Regions from separate parts of the Homo sapiens genome. Here region 2 is linked to region 1. The links are contacts of gene promoters, found by promoter capture Hi-C in human tissues and cell types (Jung and others, 2019). All regions are on one chromosome and are shown on one strand. The core of a region is centred on a gene start or on the middle of the fragment in contact, and the rest is flanking DNA. Distances in the headings are between cores, read along the strand shown. Region 1 holds the start of B3GAT2 (beta-1,3-glucuronyltransferase 2). Region 2 has its middle 35 kb from the start of COL9A1.

What was found. The method cuts DNA at HindIII sites, captures the fragments that hold promoters and counts their contacts. A contact is called where the count stands out against the background at its distance.
Region 2: a fragment that was not itself captured here is called in contact with the fragment with the promoter of B3GAT2 in region 1 in 2 of the 25 tissues and cell types used here (bladder and lymphoblastoid cells).

What each region holds. Positions count from the first base shown.
Region 1 is chr6:70,955,747-70,959,879 of GRCh38, reverse strand. B3GAT2 (beta-1,3-glucuronyltransferase 2) reads left to right here and starts at 2,820. Exons shown (of 4, transcript NM_080742.3): 1 at 2,820-4,041. The coding sequence starts at 3,451. It overlaps LOC124901229, which reads right to left and starts at 3,452. Exons shown (of 2, transcript XM_047419611.1): 1 at 3,352-3,452; 2 at 963-3,248. The coding sequence starts at 3,452. The coding sequence ends at 2,522. RefSeq lists an enhancer at 3,045-3,560 and silencers at 3,489-3,618, 4,089-4,133. The HindIII fragment of the contact is 7,853 bases long and covers 1-4,133 here.
Region 2 is chr6:70,336,438-70,340,442 of GRCh38, reverse strand. No RefSeq gene overlaps it. Among named protein-coding and RNA genes, the nearest start is that of COL9A1, 35 kb to the right of the region's middle. The HindIII fragment of the contact is 6,663 bases long and covers 1-4,005 here.

The DNA of each region.
Region 1 (4,133 bases), core at 1,571-4,070:
CATTTTATATTCATTTGATAACGATGATCCATCAAGATCTCTTGTGTTAAGGTGTTCTTTTGAGGAAGGGTTATCTGTATTGAAATATCATTTATTGACTGCCTGTGTAATAATGGCTCTTCTTCAAACTACCCAACATACACCATTTAATCCTTGCAAGATTCCCATGGAGTATGTATTATTAACCCCATTTTCCAGATGAGGAAACAGGCCTTGGGAGGTTCACTGATTTTCTAAAGTTGCACAGTAGAAAGTATCCCAGAGGGGACTCAAACCCAGGTCTGCCTGACTCCAAGAACCATGAAGCTCCCCAACAGATGACTGAATGAAATAAACCTGGGTACAAATGCTAAGGGTAATAGAAAAAAATGAAGTGACAGTCTGTGATGTGCTAATTAAGTGTTGTGTTTTATGACACCCATGAATTCTGGGCATGAGCTAAAGTCTCAAACTGCAAATTCAATTGATTTTGAAAGTGCTTTGGGCTAGGCACAATGGCTTACATCTGTAATCCCAGCACTTTGGGAGGCCAAGGCATAAGGACTGCTTGAGCCCAGGAGTTCAAGACCATCTTGGGTAATAGGAGACCCCAGTCTACAAAAACTAAAATGAAAAAATTAGCAGGGTGTAGCAGCTTATATCTGTAGTTCCTGCTACTCAAAAAGCTGAGGCAGGAGGATTGCTTGAGCCCAGGACATCGAGACTGAAGTGAGCTGTGTTCAAGTCACTGCACCCCAGCCTTGGCATTGAAGAGAGACCCTGTCTGTCTGTCTTTCTCTCTCTCTCTCTCTCTCACACACACAGACACACACACACACACACACACACACACACACACACAGTGTTTCATCTCTGAATAGCCCTGGTTCCTGGAGAGGATGTAATAGCAAATAGGTTTTATGGCATAGTTGGACCAACCAAAAGTTCCCCACTAACAAAGGTTAGTGATGTTTTTAGTACAATTCAGTAACAACATGAATTTTATTCCAGCAAACACAAGGCATTTTAACCAAATTTAAAATTTCCAACAGGATGAACCAGACTTCAGTAACTTAGGGGAGAGGGGTGCACTGCTTCCTAAGAAAAACCTTTTCTTAAAGGGAGGCCTTGACTTCTTTCCTCTTCCCCATCCTGGCATGATGCTGGTGCAGAATACATTTCCAAGGTTGTGTTATATTCAGAGGCACATTAGGCTATTCGAGAGAATGGGAAGAGGTCTAATGGCTTCGTTGTTTTCTATGTTTAGGATGCACTAATCTGCAGAGTTTAATGTATGAGTTGTGGATGGCACAGGGAAGTTGGGACAGAAGGCTAGCTCTAGGGAGTTGTTGGGGTGGCTGGGTGTTAGTCTGAAATTTCACTCTCACGTTTCAGAATCTGAAGAGGAAGTTAGGGAAATTCACAGATGAGCCAATGCCTTTTAACAGGTGGGGGGTTCAGGGGTAGGACTGGGAGAAGAGGAGCTGTCAGAAAAGCTGGAGAGCCATTCGCCCCAGAGCTCTCAGTTGCACCAGAACGCACAGTCGGAGAGAGATTTATTTGTGAACAAGCCCGAGAAAGGCAGACAACCCAGACAAGATGGGCTCAGAAATTATTTATCATAGGCTAGGGCAGAACAGTCTGGAGCTTTCCTTCTGCTTTGCAAGCACTTCCCTGGGACCTGCCTGGGAAGCACAGCCCTTCTTCCTGGTAAGTTACAGAAGGTCAGGCACTCAGCTAGTAGGCCAGCTAGACAGCAAAAAGTGTCTAAACTAAGTGCCAACTGTTTACTTGGGGTCTTCCAGACCCTATCATGGTTCTATTCGTCATGGTACACTCTGTTTGATTTCAATCGCACCATCTTTATATGTAGGAAGGCCAAACCGGCCCGGCTGTGTTGGGTGGGATTTCTGCAGGCCATGCAGTGAGGACGCCACTAGCTATAGACACACGCAGGAGACCCACGTTCTATTTCCATATGCCACTTGCCACTGACCTCAGAGAAATCATTTTAAACCCTGAACCTCAGCTTCCTTATCCTGAAAATGAAGGCCATTCTACTTCTTAGGCCTTCTTGACAGGAGCCTTGGGAGAGCCAAACGGAGTAATTCCGGTGACAGCGAAGAACTGGGAGGGACCGTGACTCCAAATTACTGAAGAAAAATAAGTTAAACATGCTCGGCTGGAGTTTTAGGAATTCCACCCGCCCCCACCCGCCATGATCAAACTGCAGTCAGGCAGCAGCCCTCCGAATTGATTCTTTCTTATGGACTGTCTCACATGCCAAACACCTATGTGCAGCACCCCTCCATCTCCGTGGGCTCCTATTGATGTCTGCCTTGCAGTGAAAGCGCTTTTTGTTGCCGCTGTTCGATACACCCCAGCACATCAACGCAGCAGCTGGGAGCAGGAGGAGGAATCCCTTCGCTTTCTCCCCTCCTTTCACTCCGAACCCTAGGCATCAGCAGCAACGCGCGTAGCCCGGCAAATTTCCGCACGTGAATGGATTTTCCTGGCTCATCTCCAAAGACCTTGCGGTATTTCACAAAGCTGAAGAGAGGTGAACGAGCATCACCCCCTCCAGGAGGTCGTGCAGCCCCGCGGGGACGCTCCTCCCGCTCCTCCACCCGCGGTGCAGCGGCCGCCTCCCGAGCTTGCTCGCGGGGCCGTTAGCGCCAGACCCGGCGGAGAGCCAAGGGGTCCCTCCGCGCCTCCCTCTCGCAGCCCCTCTCCACCAGTAGCAGCGCTGCTGTCTTCCCACAGGAGGACTTGGGAGGACGCTGGATTCTGCAGCGCCCCCGCCCCCTCGCTTTTTCTTTCTTTCCTTGCTTTGGGATCTTGCTGCTGGATCCGGAGAGGTTCTGAGAAGACAAGAGCAAGGGACTGAGAGCAGGCTTCCGCTGCGGCGCGCGAACACAGCCGGGACACAACCCCCAGCGTCTCCACCCGCTCCTCGCCACCCCGGCGGGAATGTGAGGAAGGAAAGCCCCCAGCGCCGCCGCCCGCCCTCGAAGGCGTCCCAGAGAGCGTCCTGGGGGCCCGCGGCTGGAGCCCTTGTGCCCGCAGCACCGCCGGACTGGAGCGGCGAGGCGCACCGGGTGCCGCTTCTCGGCTTCCACTCTTCAGAAAGAGCGCGGTGGGGATCAGCGCCTTTCCCGCACTCGGCACAACTCCGGGACCGGCGGCGCGCGGCTGGACCGAGTCCCGCTTCCCGCCAGCTCACCTGGAGTCGGGGGCAGCCCCTGCCCGCCCGCCTGCACCCCTTGTCGCTCTAGCTTGCGCGAACCTGCCGCTCCTCCACGCCCAGGTAGTGAGCCCCGCGGCTCCAGGTCTCTGCAGCGCCCTCGGCCCCATGGACAGCGCACCCATCACCACTCCCTAAGTGCTGGCGCCGCCGCTGTCCAAGCTGCGCACTGGGGTCCCTCGGCTCGCCCCTCTCTGGGGTGTCCGAGAGGCCAGGGAGCGTGCACCATGAAGTCCGCGCTTTTCACCCGCTTCTTTATCCTCCTGCCCTGGATCCTAATTGTCATCATCATGCTCGACGTGGACACGCGCAGGCCAGTGCCCCCGCTCACCCCGCGCCCCTACTTCTCTCCCTACGCGGTGGGCCGCGGGGGCGCCCGACTCCCGCTCCGCAGGGGCGGCCCGGCTCACGGGACCCAAAAGCGCAACCAGTCTCGGCCGCAGCCACAGCCGGAGCCGCAGCTGCCCACCATCTATGCCATCACGCCCACCTACAGCCGCCCGGTGCAGAAAGCGGAGCTGACCCGCCTGGCCAACACGTTCCGCCAGGTGGCGCAGCTGCACTGGATCCTGGTGGAGGACGCGGCGGCGCGCAGCGAGCTGGTGAGCCGCTTCCTGGCGCGGGCCGGGCTGCCCAGCACTCACCTGCACGTGCCCACGCCGCGGCGCTACAAGCGGCCCGGGCTGCCGCGCGCCACTGAGCAGCGCAACGCGGGCCTCGCCTGGCTGCGCCAGAGGCACCAGCACCAGCGCGCGCAGCCCGGCGTGCTCTTCTTCGCTGACGACGACAACACCTATAGTCTGGAGCTCTTCCAGGAGGTAAAGGCCAGCCTGCCCCGCTGGGTGGGCGAGGGCGGGAGTGGGCCTCCGGGCCGGCCGGGCTGCAGTCACACGCCCCTTGCACTCCGGGT
Region 2 (4,005 bases), core at 1,103-3,602, 620 kb after region 1:
ATATTGAAACAAAAAAGAGCCAAAATAGCCAAGGCAATTCTTTTTGTTTGTTTGTTTGTTTGTTTGTTTGAGACAGAGTCTTGCTCTGTCACCCAGGCTGGAGTGCAATGACAGGATCTTGCCTCACTGCAACCTCCGCCTTCCAGGTTAAAGTGATTCTCCTGCCTCAGCCTCCTTAGTAGCTAGGACTACAGGTGTGAGCCACCATGCCAGGCTAATTTTTGTATTTTTAGTAGAGATGGGGTTTCACTATGTTGGTCAGGTTGGTCTTGAACTCCTGACCTCATGATCCGCCTGCCTCGGCCTCCCAAAGTACTGAGATTACAGGCATGAGCCACCACACCCAGCCTAGCCAAGGCAATTCTAAGCAAAAAGAACAAGGCTGGAGGCATCCCATTACCCAACTTCAAACTATACTACAAGGTTACAATAACTAAAACAGCATGGTACTGGTGCAAAAACAGTTACATAGACCAATGGAGCAGAATAGAGAGTCCAGAAATGATTCTGCATACCTACAACCACCTGATCTTTAACCAAGCTGACAAAAACAAGCAATGGGGAAAGGACTTCCCATCAATATATGATGCTGGGATAACTCAGTAGCCATATGCTGAAGACTGAAACTGGATCCCTTCCTTAAACCATATACAAAAATCAACTCAAGATGGATTAAAGACTTAAATGTAAAACCTAAAACTATAAAAACCCTGAAAGATAATCTAAGATATACCATTCTGGACATAGGACCTGGCAAAGATTTCATGCTGAAAACACTAAAAGCAATTGTTGCAAAAACAAAAATTAACAAGCGGGACCTAATTAAACTAGAGAGCTTCTGCATAGCAAAAGAAACTATCAACAGAGTAAACAAACAACCTACAGAATGATAGAAAATATTTGCAAAGTATGCGTCCAACAAAAGTCTAATATCCAGAATCTATTTGGAATTTATACAAAGTTACAAGCGAAAAGCAAACAACCCCATTAGAAAGTAGGCAAAGGATATGAATAGAACCTTTTCAAAAGAAGACATACATGCAACAAACAGGCACATGAAAAAAACTCAACATCACTAATTATTAGAGAAATGGAAATCAAAACCACAATGATGTACTACCTCATACTAATCAGAGTGGCTATGATAAAAAAAAAAGTAGATGCTGATGAGGTTGCAAAGAAAAGGATACTCTTATACGCTATTGTTGGGAGTGTAAATTAGTTCAGCCATTGTAGAAAGCAGTGTGGTGATTCCTCAAAGAACTTGAAACAGAATTACCATTTGGCCCAGCAATCCCATTATTGGGTGAGTACCCAAGGGGATAAAAATCCTTCTACCATAAGGACAAATGCATGCATATGTTCATCTTAGCACTATTTGCAATAGCAAAGACATGGAATCAACCTAAATGCCCATCAACTGTAGACTGGATTAAAAGAATGTGGTATATATACACCATGGAATACTACACAGCCATAAAAAAGGAGATCATGCCCTTTGCAGCAATATGGATGGAGCTGGAGGCCATTATCCTTAGCAACTAATGCAGGAAAAGAAAATTAAATACTGCACATTCTCATTTGTAAGTGGAAGCTAAACAATGAAAATACATGGACACAAAGAGGGGAACAACATACATCAGAGCCTACTTGAGGGTGAAGGGTGGGAGGAGGGAGAGGATCAGAAAAAAATACCTATTGAATATTATACTTACTATCTGCATGATAAAATAATCTGTACACCAAACCCCTGTGACATGCAGTTTGCCTATATAACAAACCTGAACACCTAGATACCCTTGAACCTAAAATAAAAGTAAAAAAAATTAAAAAAGGAAATATAACCTTGTCTTTTCTAAATGGCGTATGTTGTTCTATAATAATGTTGTTTCCAGAATAAAATAATCAATGAAGAATTTTCCTAGCTTGAATATCTTTCTATTTCCATGTACACATGGTCCTTGGCTTACAATGGTTTGACTTAGAATTTTTTTTGACTTTATGATCGTACAAAAACAATATGCATTCAGCAGAAACTGTACTTTATATATCATATAACCATTCTGTTTTTTCACTTTCAGTACAGTACTCAATAAATTACATGAGATATTCAACACTTCATCATAAAATAGGCTTTGTTTTAGATGATTTTGCCCCACGTTAGGCTAATGTAAGTGTTCAGAGCGCATTTACAGTAGGCCAGGCTAAGCTATGATGTTCTGTAGCTTAAATATATTAAATGTATTTTCAATTTAACATATTTTCAACTTATGATGGGTTTATTGGAATGGAACTGTATCACGAGTCAGGGAGCATCTGTGTATCTAAGTTGGATTCTTTGCTGTTGATTTCTTGATTTTAAAATAATTAAATAAAAGGAGAAAATGCAGCTCATTACCTAAATGCTGAAAATGCTGACATTCTGGGTATCTGTTGGATTACTTCTAATTTATGAAGATTTTCTGAATGATAATTTTAGAATTGATTGGATGTATTTCAGATGGAGAACTGTTTCTATGGCAACATATTGGGTTTACAGACTGAAAGACTATTCCAAACAGCATTAACTAAAATTGCACATAAACAGAATGAAACACATTAAAAAACAAAGAGAAATGCTAGAGCAGGCTGAACCCAAACCCAGTTGCCTGTAATGATTTTCGTCACCTATAGATCGTCCTACATATTCCTGGAAGCGATCAGTTTCATAGTCAATATGTGCTCTCTGAGGGGAGAGGCCCCCTTATCAGGGCAGTAACAGAGTCCCAGTACCAGTTAGATAAGGCAGTTGTTACTGGTAGATTATCTATGGGAGCAACCTGCCAGAGGATATGAGCTAGACACATGAGTCAGAGGCGAATCTAAGATCTGGGGCTACGAGCAAGTAGTTCAGCCACCAGAGCAAAAATGAGAGTGAGGAATGGGCTCAATACAGAGAAACTGCTGAGGAGCAAAAAAAAAAAAGAAAAAAGATAAAGGGGAAATTTGGGATTGGAATGGAAAACATGGAGTTTTGAGGTTAGTGCTGTGCTAAGCTTCAGTTGGAAATCTTTAAAGAAAGAATCATGAACCACATATCTTTGTGTGGAGTTTCACTGGTTGGTTAGTGTTGGGAGACAATTCTCCATGGGTCCTTTAAGTTTCTGCACAACTTATGCTCAGAGATACTGACTGGTTTTTTTCCAGATTATTTTTTCAAGGACGTCTGTATAGTGAACAGCCTAAGAAGGTAGCAACAGTGTCTTTATCTCGAGCAAAGTAAAATTTGTTTACTCTCCACTGTAATAAAAGTGCCTACTTCCAGAGCAAGGCCCAACAGGCTTACTCCCCATTATAAAAGATTTGGACTTGAGGTGGCTGGCAAGATGGCAGAATAAGAACAGCTCCGGTGTGCAGCTCCCAGCGAGATCGACACAGAAGGCAGGTGATTTCTGCACTTCCAACTGAGGTACCTGGCTCATCTCACTGGGACTGGTTAGACAGTGGTGCAGCCCATGGAGGGCGAGATGAAGCAGGGTCAGGTGTCGCCTCACCAGGGAAGCACAAGGGATTGGGGAACTCCTTCCCCTAGCCAAGGGAAGCCGTGAGGGACTGTGCTGTGAGGGATGGTGCATTCTGGCCCAGATACTACGCTTTTCTCGCAGTCTTCTCAACCCACAGACCAGGAGATTCCCTTGGGTGCCTACGCCACCAGGGCCCTGGGTTTCAAGCACAAAACTGGGCGGCCGTTTGGACAGACACCGAGCTAGCTGCATGAGTTTTTTTTTTCATACCCCAGTGGCACCTGGAATGCCAACAAGACAGAACCGTTCACTCCCCTGGAAAGGGGGATGAAGCCAGGGAGCCAAGTGGTCTAGCTCAGCAGATCCTACCCCCATGGAGCCCAGCAAGCTAAGATCCACTGGCTTGAAATTCTAGCTGCCAGCACAGCAGTCTGAAGTCAACCTGGGATGCTCAAGCTTGGTGGGGGGAGGGGCGTCGGCCATCACTGAGGCTTCAGTAGGT